Linked DNA regions of Homo sapiens: all the other regions are linked to region 5. Evidence: promoter capture Hi-C in 16 types of primary human blood cells and fetal thymus (Javierre and others, 2016). All regions are on one chromosome and are shown on one strand. Each heading gives the region's core, a stretch centred on a gene start or on the middle of the fragment in contact. The rest is flanking DNA. Distances are from core to core; before and after follow the strand shown. Region 1 overlaps MYHAS (myosin heavy chain gene cluster antisense RNA). Region 2 overlaps MYHAS (myosin heavy chain gene cluster antisense RNA). Region 3 overlaps MYHAS (myosin heavy chain gene cluster antisense RNA). Region 4 overlaps MYH3 (myosin heavy chain 3). Region 5 holds the start of RCVRN (recoverin).

Region 1 (5,335 bases), core at 164-2,663, 670 kb before region 5:
GGATCTGAGCTCTTGATAGTATCACTGAGCTTCCAGATCAAGCCTTGCCTTATGCTAGTCTTCTCTCTGATCCTTCCAGATACATTAGCTGACACATTTAATGTTTTAGCTTCTTTGAGTTGGAATTCCTGGTGCTTTTAACAAAAACATAGCAATTGAAACATTTTAATACGTTTATTTTCTTTTATTTTTTTAGACTGAGTTTCACTCTTGTTGCCCAGGCTGGAGTGCAATGGTACGATCTCTGCTCACTGAAATCTCTGCCTCCTGGGTTCAAGCGATTCTCCTGCCTCAGCCTCCCGAGTAGCTGGGATTACAGGCATGTGCCACCACACCCAGCTAATTTTGTATTTTTAGTAGAGACGGGGTTTCTCCATGTTGGTCAGGCTGGTCTTGAACTCCTGACCTCAGGTGATCCGCCCACCTCGGCCTCCCAAAGTCCTGGGATTACAGGAGTGAGCCACCGCGCCCCACCATAAATTTCTCATACAAATAGTCCATGCCACTGGCTCCATTCCCTTATCACTTCCTCTTGACCTATCTAAAATCAGCTTAGCTAAGGGGTAAAGATACGAACCAATTGCCTCTCTATGGGCCCATAGCCTTTTATTTTTTTTCTTTTCTTTTTTTTTTTTTTCTGAGATGGAGTTTCACTCTGTCACCCAGGCTGGAGTGTAGTGGTGCAATTTCAGCTCACTGCAACCTCCGCCTCCCAGGTTCAAGTGATTCTCCTGCCTCAGCCTCCTGAGTAGCTGGGATTACAGGCGCACACCACCACACCAAGCTGATTTTTGTATTTTTAGTAGAGATGGGGTTCCATCATGTTGGTCAGGCTGGTCTCCTGACCTCATGTGATCCGCCTGCCTTGGCCTCCCAAAGTGTTGGGATTACTGGCGTGAGCCACTGAGCCCGGCCGTTTTTGTTTTTTTTTTTGTTTTTTTTTTGAGACAGGGTCCCACTCTGTTGCCCAGGCTGGAGTGCCATAGTCTTTTTTACAGTGGCATTTATATCACTTTGTCATGTGTTGTCTAGGTCCACCATCCCTTATCTACAATTCTGAAATCCAAAATGCTTTGAAAAGACAAAATCTTTTTTTTTTAAGAAAATAAGTTTTCCCTTTCACAACAAAACTTGACTGAAAGTGGTGTAGAGATATTTATCTCTCTTTATCCCACTTAGTGTGAGTATTTATGTGCAGAGATTCTTTCACTGCAGAAATATGAAGTTGTTTGATTCTGAGGTCCTCTCCCAGATCCTGCTGGGGATACTAGGGAGTATAGATCCACAACTCCAAATCCACAACCTTTGGGGCCAGGTGCATTTGGAACTCAGTATTTTAATAACTTTTGGAAAGTTTTACAGTGCACATCACATATATTACCCTGTTGGGAGTATGACATAATATTCAGTAGTTCTTTAGGGAGAAACTGCCTGCAAAGCAGGAAGAACATTCAAAACTTCTGGCAGAACAGTGGGAATCCACTGATAACATTACAGAAACAGATATCTGGTAGTCAAAGAAAATTCCTTCATTGATACAGCATTAGTCTACACTGTCTCTGAAAAAGAAATTGATATCTATGTGATACTGTAATGGTGGATGTATGACATTAGTCAAAATCCATAGAATGACCAACACAGAGTGAACTCTAATGTAAGCTATGGACTGTTAAATGTAGACATATCGTATTGGGTAGTATATTGGATCAGATAACTTCAAAGATACCATCTAGCCTGTCCATGATTCCTCTCTGTAAGCCCCCCACTCCTTTAGAATATCTCAGAGTTGGCTAGGCACGGTGGCTCAAGCCTGTAATCCCAGCACTTTGGGAGGCCTAGGTGGATGGATCACAAGGTCAGGAGATCGAGACCATCCTGGCAAACACAGTGAAACCCCGTCTCTACTAAAAATACAAAAAATTAGCTGGGCGTGGTGGCAGGCGCCTGTAGTCCCAGCTACTCAGGAGGCTGAGGCAGGAGAATGGCGTGAACCTGGGAGGCAGAGCTTGCAGTGAGCCAAGATCACGCCACTACATTCCAGCCTGGACGACACAGTGAGACTCCGTCTCAAAAAAAAAAAAGAAAAAAAAAGAATATCTCAGAGTCATCTCATATCTGTAAGCCCTGCCCACACATTCAATCGAAACTCACACATGCCTCTAATCGCCAGCGTGAACTCTTCTCCCACAGTCTACACTATACTTCCAGATTTGCTTCTCTAACCTACGGCGTTCTTCTCCCTCCTTTTTCCTCAAGACCTTCAGTGACTTCTATTGCTTACTAAGCCAAGGCCAGAGAGTTCCCCTGGGCATTTAAGGTCTTACTGAATTCAACAGGTATTCCTTTACCCATGCAAACTTTTAGATCACTCTTCCTCCACAAGGACCCTCTATTAAGAGAAAATACCTAAGAGAATATTTGTCAAAGGGGCCCTGACCCCTTTTCCTCTCACACCTCTCCACCATTTACCATTGACTGATTTGAAATGTGTCCCTTTAGGTTCTTTTTGTCATTAGCACAGTCACTCAATTCTTATGCATTAATCTTCTCTTAGCTCCTCCGAATTGCTCTACCCTTTCAAAAACTTTTTGGTTCTAATCTAACATTTCTCTCATGATCATCGTACTTAATCTAATTAGTGCTCTCTGAGCTTTTAAACATCATTTTCCAAAGGGGAATCCTTGGTGAATTATACTCCCTCTGAGTATCTGATCTGTATAAGAAACTCTAAATTTGCGTTCCACACATTTAACAGTGCATATTATCAGATTCATCAGTAGGAAAAATTAATTGTCTCATTGTTTTTAATAGAAGATCAGGAAGAGAAGGGATCATTTTCTTGACGTATAAAAGCACCATTCAATCGTGAACAATTTAGCTAAAAGAAAAGAATTAACTTGTATTTGAAATATGTCATTTTCTGTCATTCCTGGAACATAGAGAGGGGACTAGTTCTCTGAGATCAAAACTCAGAATGCCATTTTTCTTGATGTTGGTCTATTTTATCTTTCATCTTTGTTACCTACATGTTTTGTTTGCTTTTTGTCAAAGCACATGCCAATAGACTAATATGAAGCTTCAGGCTACTGCAGTGTCTCATCTAAGCATAAACCTAAGATTTCAAAGAGGAATCAACATCCCTCTAGTCTTTAGTTTTTTTTGTTTGTTTTTGTTTTTTTTGTTTGTTTGTTTGCTTGAGACAAGGTCTTGCTCTATCAACCAGTCTGGAGTGCAGTGGTGTAATCATGGCTCAATGCAGCCTTGAACTGCTAGGCTCAAGCAGTACTCCTGCCTCAGCCTCCCGAGTAGCTAGGACTTCAGACATGAGCCATCATGTCTGACTCTTTTTTTTTTTTTTTTTTTTTTGTAGAAATAGGGTCTTGCTTTGTTGCCCAGGTTGGTCTCAAATTCTTGGCCTCCAGTGATCCTCCTGCCCTGGCTTGCCAAAGCGCTAGGATTACAGGTGTTAGCCACCATGCCCAGTCCCCAGTCTGTGATTCTATTTATTTTGATTGCCAAAAATAAGCCAGAGGAAAATTACTGTGAAATTTCTTTTAAAGGTCAATCCATTTCTTGAATGACTTGCTACAGAAGAAGACTTCAGGATTATTCACATCCAATAGCCTCAAGAGAAAAAGAACTTTTCTATAAAATAGCCTGGTCCTTCAGCAATTATCACCGAAACTTTTCCAAGCAAATAAAACCAATGTATTAAGAATTTTGACAATATTGAAGGAAGATCTGACAATGATATACATTGACACAATTAGACGTAAAGTAATGACTTCTTAGATGGGATGGTTAATTTTATGGGTCAACTTGGCCAGGCCCCAGTACCCAGTTTTGGGTCAAGCACCAGTCTAGACATTGTTGTGAAGGGATTTTTATTTTTATTTTTTGAGACAGGGTCTTGCTCTGTTACCCAGTCTGGAGTGCACTGGTGCAATCATAGCTCACTGCAACCTCAACTTCTTAGGCTCAAGTGATCCTCCTGCCTCAGCCTCCCAAGTAACTGGGACCACAGGCATGTGCACCATGCCTGGGGCTAAAATTTTTTATTTTGTAAAGACGGGGTCTCACTATGTTGCCCAGGCTGGTCTCTAACTCCTAGGCTCAAGCTATCCTCCCACCTTTGCCTCCCAAAGCGCTGGAATTATAGGCAGCAGCCCCCATGCCGGGCCAAAGAGATTTTTTAAGGATGCGATTAATATTTAAATCAGTAGACTTCAAGTAAAGCAGATTACTCTCTATTATGTGGGAGGGCCTCATTCAATCAGTTGAAGGTCTCAAAAGACTGAAGTCACCAAAGGACTTAAGACTACAACATCAACTGTTTCCTGGCTCTTCAGCCTGCTAACCCTGCTCTGCTGATTTCAAATTGCCAGCCTCACAACAGTGTGAGCCAATTCCTTCAAATAAATCTCTCGCTTTCCCTCTGTGTGTGTGTGTGCACACGTGCGTTTGACTCCTTGGAGAATCGTGACTAATAAAGCAGATATGCATATTTACAGTTGAGGCATACAAGTGAGAACATGGCAATGTGATACAGAACAAACAAATAGTAGTGCTTACAAATAGGAAAATTTCTTGAACTCATCCCCTTCTCCTCCAGCGAAGGTCCAAACTTTGTTACTATGACAGTACATTAGTTCATAAAATAATAAGTATATGAAATTTTTATAAAAACTGGAATGATCTCTTCAAATCAGCAAATCTGCTGCATCTGAATTTCCAGGTTCATATTGCTTGCTCAGATACTGCCCCAAGTCACCTTTGAGCTAGCACTAGACTGTCATTGAGTCAAATTTTGCAGCTTCTGGAATGTAGGAATTTACTTGGTGAGACACAAGTCTGGGTTTTCAAGTTGTGGATTAATGGACCAAAGGAAAATCAAGAAATGAAAGAACACCAAACTTGTAAATTCAATAACTAGAGGTGAGAGGAATGGAGAAAAAATCTGTTGTCAATAATTGGCAGTTTGTCAAAAAAATACACATTTGGAAGTGAAGGTGATTATCTCAGTTTTTAACATGAGATAGATGATCTGGAAAAGTCTACACAAAATTGGGAGTACAGGAAGAAACAGCAAGTATAGTAGGCACAAGCTTTTAATCTGCTCAGGATTTCTTTAGGCAACTACCCTTCCCCCATTCCCAGTCCCCATCAATCTGAGACTGACTCAATCTCCAGGATTCAGGAGTCTGTCATCCTTTTGGCCACAGGTGGTTGGCATAGGAATTAGGTTGCCAAGTTCAGCAAATAAAAATACAGGATGTTCAGTTACATTTTAATTTCAGATAAATACAATTTTTTTAGTATAAGCACGTCTCAAATA
Region 2 (5,540 bases), core at 2,107-4,606, 690 kb before region 5:
CAGTCTCTTCCATACGCTAAAAACACCATGCCAGTAGGGATTACTTTGAATGAGTTTAACACAGGCTTCTCCATGGGAGAATGCAAGAGAAGAGCCAGATGGGAGCCCTGGAATTAGTACAACAATAAACTCGGCAGCAGGAGAGGTAAAAGAGGGCCCGCTAACATGATGGAATGCTTTATCTACATTCCAAAAGCTTAAAAGAGGTGCCAGCCTTGGAAATCCCACAGTGGCGAGGACAGGGACTGGTCACACTGCATTCCCACTGTTGCATGGGTAAAGTTTAATATACAATGACTTCTGGCTTCCTGCCTGCTGAGCCATGCTGTAGGAATTGTCTGAAATTACTGAGCTGCTTCCAAAAGTTCCAACCATTTCCTATATGCGATTGCACTTAACTGTACAACGTTCCTCCGGAAGGGAAGTGCCCTGTTCTTACTTCATTCAATGAATGGTGACACCAAACCTTGGAGACAGATATTTGAGAGAAGCTGGCTCAGCACAGACTAGCATGTAGGAGATGATGGAGTTATTTTGTCCATTCTGGTTCTGCTGCAAAACTGCTGTCGGATCAGAGATAAGGCATTCAGTTACTCAGTGAAAATCCATCCACACATTCATCAATTTGAGTGCCTATAAGTGCTATTACTGGGCTGGGTCATGGAAGGAAGACAGGCATGAAAGCTATCCTTATGGAGCTAAGAGTCTTGCAGCTGATTGCTTTATTATGTGCTAGATGATGTAAGAGAAATACAGACATCTTTTAAAAAAATCCTTTGCCATCTAGGAAACCTATGATCACCCACATGCCAAGCTCCTTCCTACCCCAGGGCCTCTGCACTTGCTGTTCCTTCTACCTGGAAGGCTCTTTCCCCTCATTTTTGCATGACTGACACCTTCTATCATACACATTTCAAGTCAAATGTGTTCTTCTCAAGAGATCTTCACTGAGCAGCCTCTCTCCTCCTTAGTCGCTTTATCACATCATCTTGCTTCATTTTCTTCACTCTTTGGAATCATTGAATTTGTGTACAGTACTTATTTGACCTGCCTCACATATTTGAAGACAAGCTCCATGAGAACAAAACTTGTTCATATCACCGGAACCAGAAGAATGCCTGGAATATAGTAAGTGCTCAACATACATATACTGAGGGCAGGTACAATACCACCTTTCATAGAGAAGTACCTTATGAGCACAACAGACAAGGTTTTGCAAACATGCAAAGGAGACTCAGCACTGTTGATGGGGTTGACTTGCGAATGAAAATCTAGATTTTTCAGAAATGTCAGAAATTTCTGAAAAATCTAGATTTGGATCTGGATGATAGCGAATAAAATAAATGAACTGGTAGGGGCCATATGAGGGCAAGTTAGCAGAGCATGAGTAAAGACTCAGAAGAAGAAAGGGATTTTCATAAGGGAAAGGATGCCAGTGTGGCTGGGAGCAATAGTTTATGGGAGAAAGCAATGAGAGATGAACCTGTAAAGAGAGGTTGGACCAGCTCATGAAGGGGCAGGCTTCAATGCCAGCTGCAGAAATTATTATTCCAGATGGGAAAAGACTCAAGAATATCCAGTTGCATCCCTACTGAATAAAATCCATGGTGTTTTTTTTTAAAGGAATGACCATCCAAATTTCTCAGATAACATATAATATTTAGACCTGTCTTTTCCTACTTAGAATGTAAGTGCATCCATGGGAGGCTAGAGAAAGGAGAAATAAATCCACCTGTAGTCAACTTGTCCAGAGCTCTCTCAAACCTGCTACAGGGTGAGCAGCAATGAGGTCCTGGGTGGGCACAGAGAGATGAGGTCGACAGTGTGTGCAAGGCATCCATGGAAATGGCAGGCACATCACATTTAATCAGACTTACTACCTAAGAACCATAAATCTATTGGCAGCTCTGGGACTTAATAAAAAGTAGATTACCAAGGAGTTTCACTTTTATGAGAACTGGCTTTGCCATTTAAGACAGTTTAAAGTAGACGAAAATAAGGCAAATAAAAACCTTTGTTCTGCCACCATTTTGGAATAACAGAATATCGATTAAAAATCTAACAGTGGAAAGATAATCTTTTCTTGCTATTTTCTTCTTCTTTTAATATATAAGCCAAGTGGAAAACACTGAAAAGGGTCTGTGTGCATGGGGAGAATGACACTGCAGAACTTAAAAACAGAACCTGATGATGCCTAAGAGCACATGTGTAACACTTGAAGCTTCCTTGACATAGATCAGCTTCTGTTTGCAGCTCAGCAAACCATATGCTATATTCACTCACTCCTCAAGGATCATCTGCTCCTTTCCAAGTATTAAGATGTCAGCGAAAATCTACCTTCTGGTGAAATTTAATCTGCAGGAGAAGAGCTGCTGATGCTCATAAAAATAGCTGTCAGATGTTATGACTCCTCTGAGACACATACGACAAAGAAGGGGTCATGGAGCCCAGGACAGAAGAGTAAAACCACTTAGAACCCTTGAAGGCTGAGCAGCCCAGAAGCTCTCAACCTGGGGTCAGGAAGCCCTAAGGGGTCTATGAATGGGCTTCAGGTTATCTAGAAATTCCTTCAAATTGAACAAACATATTGTGCCTTTGTGGGGGAGGGGAAACTTTTGTCAGATTCTCAGAGCTTCATGACCAAAAATTATTAAGTATACCATAATATATCATCAATCTAGTATATTATTTCCACAGAAATTTTTTTCACACCCCAAAATTATTTTTTATTGCTCAAAAAATTCTTGGATAATAATCTTAGCAGAAATTTTAAAATTATAGATAAGGCTGAAGTCTCTTTGTCCACACCTCCATTCCGGATGTTTCCCCCACCACATTTCACGTAGACCATAAATTGTATTTGATCCATGTGTGTGCAACTTGCCTTTGCATTTCACAAGGTCTTGGGGGCAGTTCTACACGTGCACATGTAGAGCCACCTCATCCTTGTCACTTGCTGCTTGGACTCTATAGTAAGGCTGGCCTCAGTATACTCAGGCATTCCTCTAGTGATGGACACTTGGGCTGTTTCCCACTGCAAAAACAGCATGATGCATATGAATATCTTTTATTCATCATTTTATGCACTAGTACAAGTGTGTGCGTGCATGTGGTTTTTGTTTGTTTTGCTGTTGTTTTTGAGATAGCATCTTACTCTGTGGTCTAGGTTGGAGTGCAATGGCACAATCTCGGCTCACTGCAACCACTGCCTGCCGAGTTCAAGCAATTCTCCCACTTCAGCATCCCAAGTAGCTGGGACTATAGGTGCGTGCCACCACACTTGGCTAATTTCTGTATTTTTTGGTAGAGACAGGGTTTCACCATGTTGGCCAGGCTGATCTGGAACTCCTGACCTCAAGTGATCTGCCCGCCTCAATCTCCCAAAGTCTTGGGATTATGGGTGGTATAAGTGTTTCTTTAGCAGGGAGGCCAAGGAGGGAATTGCCTGGTCCTGGGATATACATATGTGTAATCTGTAATTCAACTGACAAATTCTCTCTAAGGTTGTTATAGTGGTGGTGGTTTACCCCTCCACTAGTCGTATATAAAATGTTTTCCTGTCTCCTACTGTCACACTGGATATTATCGATCATTTCAAGTTTTGCCAGTCTGAAAGATTAAAAAGTGTATCTCATTGTTACTTTTTTTTTTTTTTGAGACAGAGTCTCACTCTGTCGCCTAAGATGGAGTACAGTGGCAAGACCTCAGCTCACTGCAACCTCCACCTCCCAGGTTCAAGCGATTCTCCTGCCTCAGCCTCCTGAGTAGCTGGGATTACAGGCATGCACCACCATGCCTGGCTAATTTTTTTTTTTTTTTTTTTTTTGAGATGGAGTCTCCCTCTGTTGCCCAGGCTGGAGTGCAGTGGTGCTATCTCAGCTCACTGCAAGCTCTGCCTCCCAGGTTCAAACCATTCTCCTGCCTCAGCCTCCCAAGTAGCTGAGACTACAGGAGCCCGCCACCATGCCTGGCTAATTTTTTGTATTTTTAGTAGAGATGGGGTTTCACCATGTTGGTCAGGCTGGTCTCGAACTCCCGACCTCAGGTGATCCACATGCCTCGGCCTCCCAAAGTGCTGGGATTACAGGCATGAGCCACCGCACTGGCCCTCATTGTTACTTTCCATTGTATTTCCCTAAAAGTGGTTGAACATCTTTGCATATGTTTATTGGCTATTTGTTTTTCCTTTTCAATGAATTGCCTGTTCTGAGAGCAGTGGTTCTCAAACCTTACTGTACAACAAAATCATCCAGAGAGTTTAAGATAGAGTTTCTGGGCCCCACCTTCAGGGTTTCTGATTCAGTGAGTCTTGGGTGAAGTGCATGAGTTTTCATTTCTATTATGTTCCCAAGTGATACTAATGCTGGTGGTCCAAGAACCAGACTTAAAAACCACTGAACTAAAGAAACCACTTGATCCGTGTACCTCTCTGTGGTTTTAGCTCAGTGGTTCTCAACCCTGGTTGCACATTAGAATCACCTGGAAAGCTTTATAATGGTACTGGTACCTGAGTCCCACCCAAAACTAATTATGTCCAATGCCCTTCCCGTCCATAGTTTGTTTGTTTGTTTGTTTGTTTTTGAGATGGAGTCTCACTCTGTCACCCAGGCTGGAGTGCAATAGCACAATCTCGGCTCACTGCAACCTCTGCCTCCCGGATCCAAGTGATTCTCCTGCCTCAGCCTCCCAAGTAGCTAGGATTATAGGCATCCACCACCATGCCCGGCTAATTTTGTATTTTTAGTAGAGACAGGATTTCACCATGTGGCCAGGCTGGTCTCGAACTCCTGACCTCCGGTAATCCCCCTGCCTCAGCCTTCCAAAGCCTTCCATAGTTTTTTAAGCTCCCCAGGTGGAACCAATGTTCAGCTAGGACTGAGAACTATCACTAGCTGATACTAGTTGCCTTGAAGGAGGGCAAAGTTCTTCGTTCTGTTTCCTCCTCCCTTGCAGCATATCATAGATGTACAATGCTTGGCTGGGGCCATCTCAAAACATTCTTGCCCTGTATTTTACCCAGAGGTGTAATCCTGTGAATTTACAGCAAATAACTTATATTTGTTCAAAATGTTTATTATGTGTTCTGTTTGGGGACAACCCAACATGATAGGCCTTTAGACCTGGCCTCTTATCCCGATTCTGCAATTACCAGCTGCATAACACATATGCTAGTGACTAAACTTCCATTTGTTCACCTATAAAATGGAATTCATTAAAGCTACCTGATAGGCTCATGTAAATAAAATGAGGTATACTAGGTGCTACAGACAGTGTGTAGCCCAGCAGGAATTCAACAAATCGACACTTGGATCCCTTCCCATTTTGTGACTCGTTTGAGATAAAAATCTGGTTTCTGGATCGCCTCCTCACAAATGGCACAATTCTACTTTCGCTCATTTTGAAGAGCAATTGCATGTCTTTTTCAGGTCTCCAACCAACATCTTCATACTACTCTTAAAACTTAATTACCTAGGCAGCTTCACTTTTACCTAACTGGACAGGAATACACTTAGAAAGACAGGCTGCAGGCTGGGCATGAT
Region 3 (4,991 bases), core at 640-3,139, 720 kb before region 5:
GCACTCTCTCGTGCCCTCAGCATACAGACTTGGCGATGAGGAGATGGACCTTATCACCCACTTTACAGATGAAAAGACGAAACTCAGTGATTTGTTCAAGGTCAAAATGGCAGAGCTGGATTCTCTCTAGATCCTAAGACTCCTTTACCCTACAAAGTACTAACCTTCTACCGGGGCAGCCGGCCACATAGACAGGCGAAATCCCTCAAAAGAGCTGGCGCACAGGGTAAAGCTGTGTTGAAACTGGGCTGATAGAACCCAAAGCGTGCTTCGTGTTTTCTTTTTGATGATCGACTGTTTCTGTTAGCGTCCTCCAGGTGTTTCTCTATAACCCTCCTCTTGTCCACCACCTCAGCCCACCCCATCCTCAGAGAGCCTCTCTTAAGATAGGACCTTTGACCATTCAGTAGGAACTTGGGTGACTTTAGCTCATTTGCAATATCCACTGGCTCTTTCGTACATGGGCTCCAGAACAGGGTGGCAAAAGAATGAAGGGCGCCTTCTCTTCAGGCTCACTTTTTTGGGTGAGCCTCTCCAAATTAAGGACCATTTCTTATTATATTTTTTATTTTTATTGAGAAGGAGTCTCACTCTGTCACCCAGGCTGGAGCGCAGTGGTGCGATCTTGGCTCAGTGCAACTTTTGCCACCCGGTTTCAAGCAATTCTCATGCCTCAGCCTCCCAGGTAGCTGGGACTACAGGCACACGCCACCATGCCTGGCTAATTTTTTTGTATTTTTAGTAGAGACGGGGTTTTACCATGTTGGCCAGAATGATCTCGAACTTCTGACCTTAGGTGATCCACCCGCCTCGGCCTCCCAAGGTGCTGGGATTACAGGTATGAGCCACCACACTCAGCCATTAAGGGCCATTTCTAATTACTTTTCCTTTTCATAAATAGCCTTGTTTTTTCTCTTTTATTCTTTTTTTCTGGTGTTGGGACATGGAATTTATTAACCTTCTCCTTGTAATCCTCATACTATCCAGAAACCTCTGGCTTTCTGAAATTTTTATTGAGTCTTAAATCTCTTAGCAGTGGATTTGTATTTTTTATTACCTTTTATAATTTTTTAATTACACAAGAAATACATGGCCAAGCACAAGATTAAAAAAAAAAATCTGTCAACTATAAAAGGACTGCCAGCAAGGAGGGTAGACTCTTTCTTTATTTGGAACGGCTGAGATCTCGATTTATGATTGGCAGATGGCCCGCTTCTTAAGGACATGTGAGGGACACAGTTTCTAATAGGAGTAACATGTCCTTATGGGGGAAAACTGGTTGCAGTTTGCAGTCCACCACCAGCTGGTGAGGGCGGCCTTTCATTTCTCCACGCCTGGATCACCCGACAGCTGAGAGCTTTAATAAAACAAGTGTGCCTAGGAATGTGGGGTGAGCGAGCCACCCAGAACACAGATGTCTATTTACACCCCTACCAATAATCCCGGTGCTAAAAACAACAGCAGCTGGGAGGTTCTGAGGCTGCCTGCTGGATCTGAGCGGCGATCCGGTTACCCTCAGCAATGCTGAGACATTCTGGAGGCGCTCATGCCCCAACTGCTGTCCATCCGGAGCCAGGGGATGGCACAGATTATTTTTATCTCAGATGTTTCATGCTTTCCATGGCAGTGAGGAGCAAGAACTCCCAACTCCTGGGCTTTGATGAGTCTTCTTTGTGTGACATTAAACTGGACATGGCCCTTGTTCAAAAGTCCTGGGGAGATTTAGGAGGGGGACGATAGACACCCTTAGGTGGCCTTCATGGGGAAGCCTGGCGCGAACTTGCTGAGAGAAGGGGCAGCTTAGGTAAAGCATATGGAGAGGTGTCATTGACATAGGACTCCTTAGTGACTCAGGGATATGGAGACAAGATGAGGTGAAGCCTCACACCTCAAGGACAGTAAAGGAAATATAACTTTCCAAATAATAATGATGAAAGAACAAAACCAAACCAAGCCCATAGGGGTCCTGTGTGATAGAAGATGGTGACAAGGTGACACCCTTTTATAGTCAGAGAACAAAAGAAAGCCCATCTCTTGGATTGAGTTCCTAGCAGGAAAAGTCAAGTGTTGGAGCAATCTGTGTGGCCTTGGGGAAAACAATTCTTTCTCTGTTGACTTTCTGTCTCCGCATTTCGGTAATAAAGAGAGAATGATAAGGCAGAAGTGGTTCTTTTTTTTTTTTTTTTTTTGTGAGCAATCCTGGCCATGAACTTGGTTTTCTTGGCCTGGGGAGTGGGCATGGCTGTTTGCAATTCACACTGCTCAGAAGCCCGAAGAGAGGATCGAGCGTCCTGGCAAAGGCCCGGTGGGGAGGGGTGCTGCCACGCGAAGCCAGAACACCCTTAGCAAAAAGCCCAGGGCCAGCCAGAGCTTCCTGCTCCAAACTTTGCTGCTAGAAATTTCAGATCTGTGTTTCCTTGTACATGTATTCATTCATCTGTCATTTACCAACTGCCTATGCCATGCCCAGGAACAGGTGATGGGAGGAGCAGAGATACCCAAGAAAGACTGGGGAGAGGGAGCGAGGAAAGAGCTCACGTCTTAAAGCCCTAAGGCTCCAAATGAGGATGGGAGGAGGGGATGGAGGGAGACATATTTCCAAACATGGCCCAGTCTCAGCTCCAGGAGGGCAAGACGAGCATCCATAGCAGCTGTGCCTATTTTGGGCCTGGGATCTCTGTCCCAAGAGCAACAGGTGTTGAGACCTGAAGGACAGGTGGGCGTTTATTTTGAGGGCCTCCTGGCATCATTTCCAGAAACAGAGACCAGCTTTTCAATTCATTATCTCCAGCTACAATCATAAAATGTCTTCCTTTACTGCTTCCTAGTGGCCCACCAGCCTGTGGCTCTCGGAGCCTGCCTCATCACACAGGCGCACCCAGGGGGACTTGCAGGTTTCTGGGAAGGGGAGAGGTTTGGGCTATGTGCCCCTCTCTGGACTGGTGAGGGGTAAAGTGCACATTCTCCTCACAACCACATCCCACTCCTGAGAAGGCCACAGAGGAGAGAGTCAAGTCAGGAAGGAAGGACGACAACGAGGCGGATACAAGCTGGCCCTCTCTTGCCACCTCACCCCAAGGTGGGTACTCCCAGCATCTGCCTGTGCTGACGATGGAAGGACAACAGCAGCCACTTGCAGAGAATGCTATCTAAATATGAGTATAATTTCCAGCACCATCCCACGGGGCAGGCAGAGGCCGCGAGCATTCAGACGTGATGTTCCTTGCTGAAAAGTAGATTAAAAGGACATGAATTTTTACCTTTTTAAGTGACTTGCTTTCAGCCCCACAGTAAATCCCGGCTGTGTCCCGGTCTTGCATGTAGTGAGTGATCCATAAATACACACTGATTACACTCTATGTGACCACAGTTGATCTCCCATGGCCAAGAGCATGCAGCCCCGCAGGGCTCACTCTCATCCTTTGAGAATGAGGGGTTGTTTTCTCTGGGAAGACCAGCACTTCAGCTGCAACCTCAGCAGGTCCTGTTGCAAGCAGAGGGAGCCCTCAACAGGGTGTCTCCTGGCCGCCTGTCTCTTCTCCCCGCTCCTTCTCCTGTGTCCACTTTAGGGAGGGGTCAGAAGGGCAGCGCCAGCCCCAAACCTGGAACGAGTGCAGCAACGAGGGACCCCAAACTTCTAACCCCCAGAACAGCTCTACAAGCTGGGATTTGAATTCGTGGCTCACAGCCCAGGGGCATTCCACTGCTTGCTCAGGGCTGAGCACAGAGTCAGTGTTCATTCAACATTGGTTTCCTCCCAGCCTTCTTCCTTCAAGTTCTGTCTTGCCTTGTAATGCTGAGAATCCATTGCCTTCATGTCACTGTCTGAAATATGGGGGTGGAGATGAACATGAGCTTTTTTGTTTGTTTGTTTTGGTGGCTGTTGCCACCTCTGTAAGGAAATATTAATACTAGGTCTATAGTTTAAATCATCCTGTGTTGCTGAGTTAAAAAGACAGTTTGAATATTAAGTGTTACAGAAAAAGGAAGAAGCAATTTTGGGCAGTCTCTTCCTGCATGTCATGGCTCAATTGAAACGAATTTTTGGCTTGCATGGTGATATGAAGAGCTGGTGATCTGGGGTACACATGGTTCACCAACCATTTGGCCCCAAAGTGTGTAGTGTTCAAGACAGACAATGTTACAGCTGAGTCCATTCAAGTTAGTTAATACAACTTAGTCCTACTTAGGCCTATTTGAAACACAACTCTGACCTGTCACTGCTCTGCCCAGCAACTGTGAATGCCCCCTCCCGGCCCATCAGTTTAGTACACTTGCCTCAGATGGATACTTATTATTATTATTATTATTTTTGTGATAGAGTCTTGCTTTGTCACCCAGGCTGGAGTGCAGTGGTGCTATCTCCGCTCAGTGTAACCTCCACCTCCCAGGTTCAAGCAATTCTCCTGCCTCAGCCTCCCTAGTAGCCGGGACTATAGGTGCCCACCACCACACCCAGCTAATTTTTGTAATTTTGGTAGAGACGGAGTTTCACCATATTGGCCAGGCTGGTCTCGAACTCCTGACCTTGTGATCCACCCGCCTCAGCCTCCCAAAGTGCTGGGATTACAGGTGTGAGCCACCACGCCAGGCCGCCTCAGATGGATACTCAACCTGTCCTTCCACGTGTGCCCGCAGATGTGGCTCCCCTTCACTACTCCCGCCCAGCCATCTCCCCTTGAAATCTTAACACACCTCAGGCTGTCTTGGTCCTCCCCACCCACCAGTGGCTACGCCCCTATCCTTTGTGCACCTTTTTAGGGGCATTTTTAAATACTCCCTCTACTCTCCCTGAGTAGCAGTCATGACTTACACTGTCCTACTTACCTTTGTTTGTATCACAGTTCCTATTCCCAATACTTTGTATTTTCAAAGCTACACACACACAGTCATTGGAAGAACACTCAAGCAGGAATGAGAAAATCTCTGTTCCAGTCTTCACTTTCCTTCCAGTTTCTTTCATAATCTTTGGCATCTCACTCTCCAGGTTT
Region 4 (5,440 bases), core at 2,913-5,412, 740 kb before region 5:
AAAATGTTTCCTCTTCTTCCCTCAATTTCTTGCATTAGGGGACTCTGGAAGATCAAATCATCAGTGCCAATCCCCTGCTGGAGGCCTTTGGGAACGCCAAGACTGTGAGGAATGACAACTCCTCCCGTTTTGTGAGTCTGAGTTTGGTTAAGATGGAATTTGCTTTGTGCCTCACAAAATAGGCAAGAGCCCTGTCCTCAAAGAGTGTAGAGACCAGAGGCAACAGATGATGAAAAACAAAACAACCCAACAAGACCATTTCAGATAAAGATAAATTCAGACCAAGTTCAATGAACAGCGTGTGTAAGAGAGGAACTGGGGGCCAGGCTTGCTTTAGGCAGGGTGGGCAGGGAAGACCTCTCTGTGGGGCTGGCACGGGAGCTGAGAGCCGCAGTATGAGAAAGAGCCCAACTTGAAATGACAGGAAGGAGGGGGAACGAAGGAAGGGCCAGGGCAGTCCCTGACATGGGGGAGGGCCTGGTGCAGTCAGGGCACCTACAGAGGGTCTGTGTGGTTGTAGGGAGGAGGGCAGGGGGGCCAGTTCCATGAGATGAGGTGGAAGAGAGAGAGACCTGGTCATGTGGGAGCCACAGGCCATGAGAAGGAGTTTGGATTCCTTTTGAAGTGTAACAGGAAGCTACTGAGGGATTCTATAAGCCAGGGAGTGATATGGTTTGATTTACACCTTGAAACAATCACTGTAGTTGCTTTGTTGACTAGATACGTTGAAGTGGGGGATGAGCATAGAATAAAAGGGATAAATAAAAGGAAATAAGGAAAACCCCAAACTGGAAGAAGAAGAAGGGAGAAGAGGAAGGACATATCTAATTTCAAACTGTAGGGGGTGCTGGGCACGGTGGCTCACGCCTGTAATCCCAGCACTTTGGGAGGCCGAGGCGGGCGGATCACGAGGTCAAGAGATCGAGACCATCCTGGCCAACATGGTGAAACCCCGTCTCTATTAAAAATACAGAAATTAGCCAGGTGTGGTGGCACGTGATTGTAGTCCCAGCTACTCAGGAGGCTGAGGCAGGAGAATCACTTGAACCCGGGAGGCAGAGGTTGCAGTGAGCCGAGATCACGCCACTGCACTCCAGCCTGGTGACAGAGCGAGACTCCGTCTCAAAAACATAACAAAACAAAACAAAACAAAACAAAAATTTTAGGGGGACTAGGCTCCTACTCAAATTACCCATAAGATGAATAGGAACTATTGGGCCATGGTAGAATCTGGTCTCCCCCTGAATCCCGCCCCATACAGGGCAAGTTCATCCGAATCCATTTTGGAACCACTGGGAAGCTGGCCTCTGCAGATATTGAAACTTGTAAGTAGATCCATGGGGATTCGATGGCGTCTCAGAGTTAACTGGGAACAGTTTGAAAGAGAGTCCTGTGTTTGTGTTCCAGATCTTCTGGAAAAATCAAGAGTCACTTTCCAGCTGAAGGCTGAAAGAAGCTACCACATCTTCTACCAGATTCTTTCTAACAAGAAGCCTGAGCTCATAGGTGAGGAAGTCACCAGTGGGGCTGGTCTTTTAGGTAGTTTGACTCTGATCACTAGACCAAGGAGAGTTGTATCTACGTAGAGTGACTCTACAGTCAACAGGGAAAGTTTATTTTATTTTATTTATTTATTTTGAGATAGGGTCTCACTCTGATGCCCAGGCTGGGGTGCAGTGGCACAAGCACAGCTCACTTGTAGTCTTGACCTTTCTGGGTTCAAGTAATCCTCCAGCCCCAGCCTCCCGAGTGGCTGCGACTACAGGTGCATGCCCCCACACCAGGCTACCTTTTGTGTTTTTTGTAGAGATGAGGTTTCACCATGTTGCCCAGGTTGGTCTTGAACTCCTGGGCTCAAGCAATTTGCCCGACTCGGCCTCCCACAGTGCTGGGATTATAGGTGTGAGCCACTGCACTTTGCCAGGAAAAGCTTATTTTAGAAATGGGATGTGGCTATCTGGGCAGTGACATGCCAATTTGAAAACCTAATCAAATGGAGGGCAACAAGATTAGACCACTCCTGACCAGCTCTGGTTTATAAAAACCTTCTGAGCAACTGAACACCTAACTGTCCTTTGGCGCCCCCTTGTGTTCTGGCACAGAAACAACCTATGGCCAAATGCGACGCCAAAGCAAACAGAATAATCAAGCCCACGGAGGCACTGCACACTGCCCCTTGTCTGCCCCTCACAGAGGTCTCCATGCACACTGCTTCTTTGCTCTTTGGCTGTATTTGCTCAGCCTTCTGGTCTCCAGCTTGGAAACAGGCTGCTGCTTTTCAACAGATTTTAGAAAAGGCTATGATTATACCAAACCACCTGGGTTGGCTCTCGTCCTGACCCGCACTCAGCCAGTTTTCCCTATTAACTTCTCCCAGCCGACACTGATATGCACCATTAGCGTGCAAGGCAAGGGAATTTAAAGGTTCTCTCTAGGGTCCTTCATCTCCATTGTGTGGGAGACTGAAAAGTCTTCCCTGGACTATATTTTCCATGACAGCCTGAGTATTGTGGAACTGTCTAAAAGATTTTTAATTCTAAGTTCAATTTAGGATCCAGCGGTAAAAGTTCCAGCCCAGGGTGCAGGAGCTCAAGTCCACTGGGTGGGTTTTTTCTTTGCATCTGCATAACCTCCTGGAACTATTTGTCATTTCAGAGCTGCTGCTTATTACGACCAACCCTTACGACTACCCGTTCATTAGCCAGGGGGAGATCCTGGTGGCCAGCATAGATGATGCAGAGGAGCTGCTGGCTACAGACGTAAGTGGAACCAACAGAAGGGGTGGGTGTTCCTCCTCCATCACTGGGGCCAACTGACTGACGTGCTGCCCTTTCCATGCCAGAGCGCCATTGACATCCTGGGCTTCACCCCAGAAGAGAAATCTGGGCTCTACAAGCTGACGGGAGCCGTGATGCACTACGGGAACATGAAGTTCAAGCAGAAGCAGCGAGAGGAGCAGGCCGAGCCGGATGGCACAGAAGGTACAAAATCAGTGTGACAGCAAACCAGAGCGGGTGGCTGATCTGCTGAGGTCACTTGGTACTGCTTTTGAAAGCAATTAATCCAGCCAGGCACAGTGGCTCACACCTGTAATCCCAGCACTTTGGGAGGCTGAGGGGGCCAGATCACCTGAGGTCAGGAGTTCGAGACCAGCATGGCCAACATGGTGAAACCCCATCTCTACTAAAAAAAATTAGCTGGGCATGGTGGAGCATGCCTATAATCCCAGCTACTCAGGAGGCTGAGGCACGAGAGTCAGACAGAGTTTTGCTCTGTCATCCAGGCTAGAGTGCAGTGGCATGATCTCAGCTCACTGCAACCTCTGCTGCCTGGGTTCAAGTGATTCTCCTGCCTCAGCCTCCCGAGTAGCTGGGATTACAGGCACACACCACCGCGCCTGGCTAACTTTTTTGTATTTTTAGTAGAAACGGGGTTTCACCATGTTGGCCAGGCTCAAACTCCTGACCTCAAATGATTCGCCTGCCTTGGCATCCCAAAGTGCTGTGATTACGGGTGTGAGCCACTGTGCCCTGCCGGCATGAGAGTTTCTTGAACCCAGGAGGCAGAGGTTGCAGTGCACTGAGATCGTGCCACTGCACTCCAGCCTGGGCAACACAGTAAGACTGTCTCAAAAAAAAAAAAATGGATGGAAGCGATTAATCCTTCCATCTGGAGAAGTGAATGACCCTTTCTGGGCCTCCGATGCCCATAGCTATTGTTACCACTCGCTTTTCCTGAATCACTCGAATAGTCTTGTTTCAGATGCAGTGAGGGATGACCAGGGCTTTCTGAGACCCAGCCCTGGCTTTTCATAAAGTCCATTATATTCTCTGAGTGACTTAGCTTCCATTGGCCATGTATATGCAGTTTAGCCACAGGGAATGCACAATGTACCAAGATGAACTTAACCAACCTTTGAAACTTCTGGATGATTTTCAAAGCAGCTCTTCTACTTTTCTAAGCACTGTCCTTGTTTTCTTGCCAGTGGCTGACAAAACAGCCTATCTGATGGGCCTGAACTCTTCGGACCTCCTAAAAGCTTTGTGCTTTCCTAGAGTGAAAGTTGGGAATGAGTACGTTACCAAAGGTCAAACTGTGGATCAGGTAACAGCTTCAAGGCCGGGAAAGGGTGCAGGACCCTGCTGGCCACTTCCTTCATATCCAGTAGCTGATCTTTCCCCTGATAGGTTCACCATGCTGTGAATGCTCTTTCAAAATCAGTTTATGAAAAGTTGTTCTTGTGGATGGTCACTCGCATTAACCAGCAACTGGATACGAAGCTTCCAAGACAACACTTCATTGGTGTTTTGGACATTGCAGGCTTTGAAATCTTTGAGGTTTGTGTTACTTATATTCATATTTTCATATGGCTTCATATGAGGGAAATTGGTTTCATGATCCTAAAGGGAAGATAGCAAGATGGCGGCTGTCTTAGTTTCCTGTAAGAAACTAGATGGAGAGTGGATGGAATAGAGGAGCGGTACTTATTGGAAGGGTTTGTATTAGGGTTTTTTGTTTGTTTTTTTTTTTTGAGACTGAGTTTCACCCTGTCACTCAGGCCAGAATGCAGTGGCGCCATCTCGGCTCACTGCAACCTCTTCCTGAGTTCAAGTGAACCTCCTGCCTCAGCCTCCTGAATAGCTGGGATTACAGGCGTGTGCCACCATGCCTGGCTAATTTTTGTATTTTTAGTAGAGATGGGGTTTCACCATGTTGGCTAGGCTGGTCTCGAACTCCTGACCTCAAGTGATCCATCCGCCTCGGCCTCCGAAAGTGTTGGGATTACAGGCATGAGCCACCGCACCTGGCTGGGTTTGTATTATTTTAAAAGAGGAGAAGATGTCTATCAAGTGGAATTTTAAAGGACATTTTCAAATGGATAAAAGAAAAAAAATTAAATGCAATCACTGATTTAGGGACTGCCATCAAATAGATACAGAGAATTTGATAAGTTAATCACGCACTATTTTCTATAAATATCCCACTGGTTCTGTGTTAGACCGTGCATAGCCGCGGCTGGGCATGGTGCCTCATGCCTGTAATCCCAGCACTTTGGGAGGCTGAGGCAGGCAGATCGCAAGGTCAAGAGATCAAGACCATCCTGGCCAACATGGTGAAACCCCGTCTCTACTAAAAATACAAAAATTAGATGGGTGTGGTGGCGTGCGCCTGTAGTTCCAGCCACTCTGGAGGCTGAGGCAGGAGAATCATTTGAACCTGGGAGGCGGAGGTTGCAGTGAGCCGAGATGGTGCCATTGCACTCCAGCCTGGTGACAGAGCAAGACTCCGTCTCAAAAAAAAAAGAAAAAAAAAAGTGCATAGCCACTCATCAAAGTGTATATTTAGGTTTCCCAGGTACAAGACATACAGGTGAAAAAAACAGATGAGCTTGTAGTCTAGTAGAGAAGAAATAGAAGTCTATATGGCACATTGAAGAGTA
Region 5 (5,489 bases), core at 1,899-4,398:
CCTGGGTCCAGCTCCTTCCTCCTTGTGCCTGGAGAGGACAGCAAAGACTGGAGGGCTCTGGCTGCCTTCTGCCTCGCCCAGGGCCTCTTTCATTGACATGGTAACCCCACCTCCTCACCTACTTGTCCTCTAGGCTCAGGCCTCCTGTGACGTAGACAAAGGAAGCCTAAATGGACAGGCTGGCAGACCTGGACTTTCCTTCCTTCTGGCATTGCCATTTAGCAACCATGTGACCCCAGGCTGGTGACATGCCTTTAGGAGGCCCCACTTCTCACTTGTAACACTGGCTTCGCCTCATCTGCTGCAGGCTTGATGTGGACAGGGGTGCGATCCAGGAGGCACTTCCAGTCGCCCCCTACTAGTGGCTCAGAGCAAGGGGCCGAGGCCTCTGACCTCACTCTCCCTCCATCCCCAGGGCTGCAAGGAAGCTCTGGAATGAATGCGATTCCAGGGTGTGGCTTGGGCTCCCGTTTGTTTTCAAGGCTAGTGACTGTCCTGTTTCTAACTGCTCTTGAGAATAAATGCACGCTACAGGATGGTGAAAGCCTAGGAGAGGAAGGACTCCTATTCAGAAGTAATATTCTCACTGGGCGCAGTGGCTCATGCCTGTAATCCCAGCACTTGGGGAGGCCAAAGCAGGCAGATCATGAGGTCAGGGGATCGAGACCGGCCTGACCAACAAGGTGAAATCCCATCTCTGCTAAAAACACAAAAATTAGCTGGGCATGGTGGTGAGCGCCTGTAATCCCAGCTACTTGGGAGGCTGAGGCAGGAAAATCGCTTGAACCTGGGAGGCAGAGGTTGCAGTGAGCCGAGATCGTGCCATTGCACTCCAGCCTGGGCGCAGAATGAGGCTCTGTCTTAAAAAAAAAAAAACAAAAAAAACAAACAAACAAAAAAAAAAAAACTCACAAAGTGATGGAAAAAAATTAGAAAGTTCACACACACACCCCAATATGCAGGTTTCCTGAGAAATCTCTGAAACTGTACTGGGCAGAGCGGCTGGGAGGGATGAGTCTGCCCCTTGGTGCCTGAACCTCTCGGTCCTTCCAGAGTGACATGAGGTGGGCCTGGCAGGTGGCTTTCTCCCAGCAGCAGGGACCTACCTTCTGCTGCCACTAGCCTGTTAGTAAGTAGGCTAAAATCCCCACTTTACACTTTGAGATGCAAGGCGGGCGGATCACCTGAGGTCAGGAGTTTACGAGACCAGCCTGACCAATATGGTGAAACCTCGACTCTACTAAAAATACCAAAAAAAAATTAGCTGGGCGTGGTGGCAGACACCTGTAGTCCCAGCTTCTCAGGGGACTGAGACAGGAGAATTGCTTGAAACCAGGAGGCGGAGGTTGCAGTGAGCCAAGATCGTGCCCAGCCTAAGTGACAGAGGGAGACTCCGTCTAAAAAAAAACCAGTTTACCTGCCTGGAGACCGTGGGGTTTATTCTTCATCATTCTCACCCCAGGGCAAAAAGAGACAACTCTCCATCCACGGTGGCAAGGCTGGGGTTCTGAGTGTGTCCCCTCGAGCACTGCGCTCCGCTAAGGAAAGTGCACGCCCACCCTCCCTTCCTTCTGGGTGACAAGAATCCAGGTGTGCAGCGTCCTCACTAGGTTGCTTCCTCGTGCTTGATACTCCCCGCTGAGCTGCACAGACGCGAAGCCTGCCTTTGCACAGCTCCGTCTCTGACCACTCAGTTATTTATCCATTCACTCAGCAAACACGTTTTCTTGCCTGCTCACTCCAAGTCCACTGCAGACGGACACCCTGCAGCCTGCCATGGACCCACAGATAGATTGTGTTTGGCCCACACCATGTTTTGTTTTGTTTTTGTTTTTGTTTTTGTTTTGTTTTTTTGAGATGGAGTCTCACACTTGTCACCCAGGCTGGAGTGCAATGGTGCAATCTCGGCTCACTGCAACCTCTGCCTCCCGGGTTCAAGCGATTCTCCAGCCTCAGCCTCCCAAGTAGCTGGGATTACAGTCACCTGCCACCATGCCCGGCTAATTTTTTGTATTTTTAGTAGAGACAGGGTTTCACCATGTTGGCCAGGCTGGTCTCGAACTCCTAACCTTGTAATCTCCCCACTCAGTCTCCCAAAGTGCTGGGATTACAGACGTGAGCCACCATTAAAATTTTGAATTAATTGCCAAAGTTGAAAAGTGTGGAAATTGCAAGAAAAATTCTGATTTTTGGATTTCTCTTGAATAATTTAAAAAAACCCAAAAATCTCACCATCCCATGTGACCACGTTCTCTGGCAGCCCCTTCCCGAGGTGACACAGGCCTGGCTGCCCCCTGCTGGTCCCTTCAGGCAGTTCACCTTCACTCCCTGTGACTGATGGACAATAACAAAACGAGTGTTTAGCATTAGCCATGTGCCAGTTTCTAAGTGTGTCAGACATATTGACTCACATCAGCCTCACAATGACAGTGTGGTAGATGCTATGATGCCCATTTATTCAAGAAAGACTTGCTGGGGGCCCAAGCCTATCAGGTTCTGGCAATGGAAATGCATCCGGGAACAACACAGACAAAATCCCATCCTTCACGGAGCTTTCATTCCGGTGAGGGGACATGCAGCGTGCCGATGATGGTGGGGGTTGTGCTATTATAGATAGAGGGTCAGTATAGGCCTGGCTGAGCAGGTGACATTTAAGCAGAGACATGACTGCAGTGAAGGTTTAGAAGAGTGTCCCAGGTGGAAAGAGGTGAAGAAACAAGCCTGGGGCCACACAGCTAGTTAAGTAGCCAAGCTGGGACTTGAACCCATGCTGGCCCCAGAGTCTGTGCTCCTAACCATTGCATTCTAGGGCTTGATATGAGATGCCAGCCCCGCCCCGAGATGCTCAGAGTTAGTGAGGAAGAGAAACAGGGAACATGGCTGCTGTTAGAGGGCTGGGGCTGGGGGTGCCGGAGGCCCCAGCTCTGAGGGTTCCAACCTCCTGTCCTGTTCTAGTATCGTCCCGGGAGGCCGAGATGAATTGCCTGCCTGCCCTGGGCTCTTTATTTTAATCTCACTAGGGTTCTGGGAGCACCCCCCCCCACCGCTCCCGCCCTCCACAAAGCTCCTGGGCCCCTCCTCCCTTCAAGGATTGCGAAGAACTGGTCGCAAATCCTCCTAAGCCACCAGCATCTCGGTCTTCAGCTCACACCAGCCTTGAGCCCAGCCTGCGGCCAGGGGACCACGCACGTCCCACCCACCCAGCGACTCCCCAGCCGCTGCCCACTCTTCCTCACTCATGGGGAACAGCAAAAGTGGGGCCCTGTCCAAGGAGATCCTGGAGGAGCTGCAGCTGAACACCAAGTTCTCGGAGGAGGAGCTGTGCTCCTGGTACCAGTCCTTCCTGAAGGACTGTCCCACCGGCCGCATCACCCAGCAGCAGTTCCAGAGCATCTACGCCAAGTTCTTCCCCGACACCGACCCCAAGGCCTACGCCCAGCATGTGTTCCGCAGCTTCGATTCCAACCTCGACGGCACCCTGGACTTCAAGGAGTACGTCATCGCCCTGCACATGACCACCGCGGGCAAGACCAACCAGAAGCTGGAGTGGGCCTTCTCCCTCTACGACGTGGACGGTAACGGGACCATCAGCAAGAATGAAGTGCTGGAGATCGTCATGGTCAGTCTCCCCTCTCCCCTTCTGGCTGGGCGGTGCCGGGGTCGCTCCGGGCTGGGGGTCCCCTGCTGCAGCTGCTGCAGAGGGAGTGGATCTGTGGGTGGAGCGGGGGATGCGGGCCACTGGCTCTGAGAGCGTGGTGCTCCGAGATGCTGATATTGATAGAGGGGTGGGCACTTGCCCACAGCTTCGTTGTCTTCCCGGAGCAGAATCTGAGTGTTTCCTAATACAGCCATGTTATGCTTGGCTTCACGATGTTTGGGTCAACAACGGACGATATAGACCACTGTGGTCCCATAAGATTGTAATGGAGCTGAAAAATTCCTACTGCCTAGTGACGTCATAGCACAGTTACTTTATTTTTCAAATGCATTTAGTGTAGCCTAAGTGTATCCGTAAAGTCTGTAGTTGTGTACGGTAATGTCCTAGTTCTTCACATTCACTCACTACTCACTCACTGACTCACCCAGAGCAACTCCCAGTCCTGCAAGCTCCACTCATGGTGAGTGCCCTAGACAGGTCTACCATTTTGTATCTTGGTTTTTTATTTTTTATTTTTTTGAGATGGAGTCTCACTCTGTAGCCCAGAGCTGGAGTGCAATAGTGCGATCTTGGCTCACTGCAACCTCTGCCTCCCGAGTTCAAGCAATTCTCCTGTCTCAGCCTCCCGAGTAGCTGGGATTACAGGTGTGCACCACTATGCCTAGCTAATTTTTGTATTTTTAGTAGAGACGGGGTTTCACCATGTTGGTCAGGCTGGTCTCAAACTCCCGACCTCCAGCGATCCGCCAGCCTCAGCCTCCCAAAGTGCTGGGATTTACAGGCATGAGCCACTGTGCCCGGCCCATTTTTTATCTTTATACTGTATTTTTACTGCATGATTTCTATGTTTAGCTATGTTTAGATGCACAAATACTTACCATCGTGTGACAACTGCCTGCAACATTCAGGACAGTCACGTGCTGCACAGGTTTGTAGCCTAGGAGCAAAAGGCTGGACCATGGAGCTCAGGGATGTAGTCGGCTCTACCATCTGTGTTCGTGCAAGGATGCTCTATGATGTTCCCACATAGAAGTTGCCTTAAGATGTGTTTCTCGGAATGTATTCCTGTCTCTGAGCGACACGTGACTATATTTACATTTTTTCTTTCTCTCCATCCTTTGTTTCTTCCTTCCTTTATTAAAATGTCCTTTGAAATTTTCAGCAGTACACATTCAAGTTGAATCACTGTTCATTCTAAACACACAATATGCTTCTAATATAAAGTAGAAAGAGGTCAAAGTTGGGGGCATGAACTCTGAGTTCTAGTCCTCATGTTCTCCCCAGCGCGGGGCGGATCATGGCACCACGCATGAGCCCCCGCTTCCCACGCGCGGCGTGGCTCCCCGGCTCCTGACAGTTTCCCTGTGAGGCGCACAGGCTTCCATATGGTTCCCAACACGCCTTCTCCCCTGTCCATACTGTCCTCCTGTCAGATCCTTTGTTGTGAAAGTAATGGCAAAAACCATAATTACTTTTCCACTAACCTCGTAGGTGTCTTGAAAATGGTTTATCTGATATAAAAGTAACTCATGAAATTTAGAAACCTAGGCAAAAGAGACTAACAATTGCCTCTAATTCCAACATCCAGGGAAAACTTTTCTTAGTATATCAGTATATACCTTTTCAGTCTTTTACCTATATAATTTTAAATAATGTTAAAGCTATGACATATTCACATACGATTTTTTATCATACATTTTTCAGTTACTCTTTTATCATGAGTGCTTTCCATATCATTACATATTCTTCCAAAACACTTTTTTTTTTTCTTCAGACAGAGTTTTGCTCTTGTCGCCCAGGCTGGAGTGCAGTGGCGTGATCTCAGCTCACT

Evidence for each region. Contacts are between HindIII fragments. The CHiCAGO score rates a contact against its expected background, and 5 or more counts as called.
Region 1: a fragment that was not itself captured here is called in contact with the fragment with the promoter of RCVRN in region 5 in 1 of 17 cell types (naive B cells); the score reaches 5.1 in naive B cells.
Region 2: a contact is called between a fragment that was not itself captured here and the fragment with the promoter of RCVRN in region 5, in 4 of 17 cell types (total B cells, naive B cells, monocytes and 1 more). The highest score is 7.8, in total B cells.
Region 3: a fragment that was not itself captured here is called in contact with the fragment with the promoter of RCVRN in region 5 in 6 of 17 cell types (monocytes, M0 macrophages, naive B cells and 3 more); the score reaches 13.7 in monocytes.
Region 4: a fragment that was not itself captured here is called in contact with the fragment with the promoter of RCVRN in region 5 in 2 of 17 cell types (naive B cells and M1 macrophages); the score reaches 5.5 in naive B cells.

The regions. Positions count from the first base shown.
Region 1 is chr17:10,573,649-10,578,983 of GRCh38, reverse strand. All of the region lies in intron 3 of MYHAS (myosin heavy chain gene cluster antisense RNA), which reads right to left. Among named protein-coding and RNA genes, the nearest start is that of MYH2, 27 kb to the right of the region's middle. The HindIII fragment of the contact is 3,331 bases long and covers 1-3,078 here.
Region 2 is chr17:10,595,567-10,601,106 of GRCh38, reverse strand. It overlaps MYHAS (myosin heavy chain gene cluster antisense RNA), which reads right to left. Exons shown (of 11, transcript NR_125367.1): 6 at 2,885-3,034. Among named protein-coding and RNA genes, the nearest start is that of MYH2, 49 kb to the right of the region's middle. The HindIII fragment of the contact is 2,266 bases long and covers 2,224-4,489 here.
Region 3 is chr17:10,621,586-10,626,576 of GRCh38, reverse strand. MYHAS (myosin heavy chain gene cluster antisense RNA) reads right to left here. Exons shown (of 11, transcript NR_125367.1): 11 at 1,037-3,825. Among named protein-coding and RNA genes, the nearest start is that of MYH3, 33 kb to the left of the region's middle. The HindIII fragment of the contact is 7,509 bases long and covers 1-4,991 here.
Region 4 is chr17:10,643,248-10,648,687 of GRCh38, reverse strand. It overlaps MYH3 (myosin heavy chain 3), which reads left to right. Exons shown (of 41, transcript NM_002470.4): 8 at 39-131; 9 at 1,262-1,325; 10 at 1,408-1,506; 11 at 2,656-2,759; 12 at 2,843-2,981; 13 at 3,986-4,104; 14 at 4,188-4,337. Among named protein-coding and RNA genes, the nearest start is that of MYH3, 11 kb to the left of the region's middle. The HindIII fragment of the contact is 241 bases long and covers 4,042-4,282 here.
Region 5 is chr17:9,902,930-9,908,418 of GRCh38, reverse strand. It overlaps RCVRN (recoverin), which reads left to right and starts at 3,148. Exons shown (of 3, transcript NM_002903.3): 1 at 3,148-3,619. The coding sequence starts at 3,239. The HindIII fragment of the contact is 11,305 bases long and covers 1-5,489 here.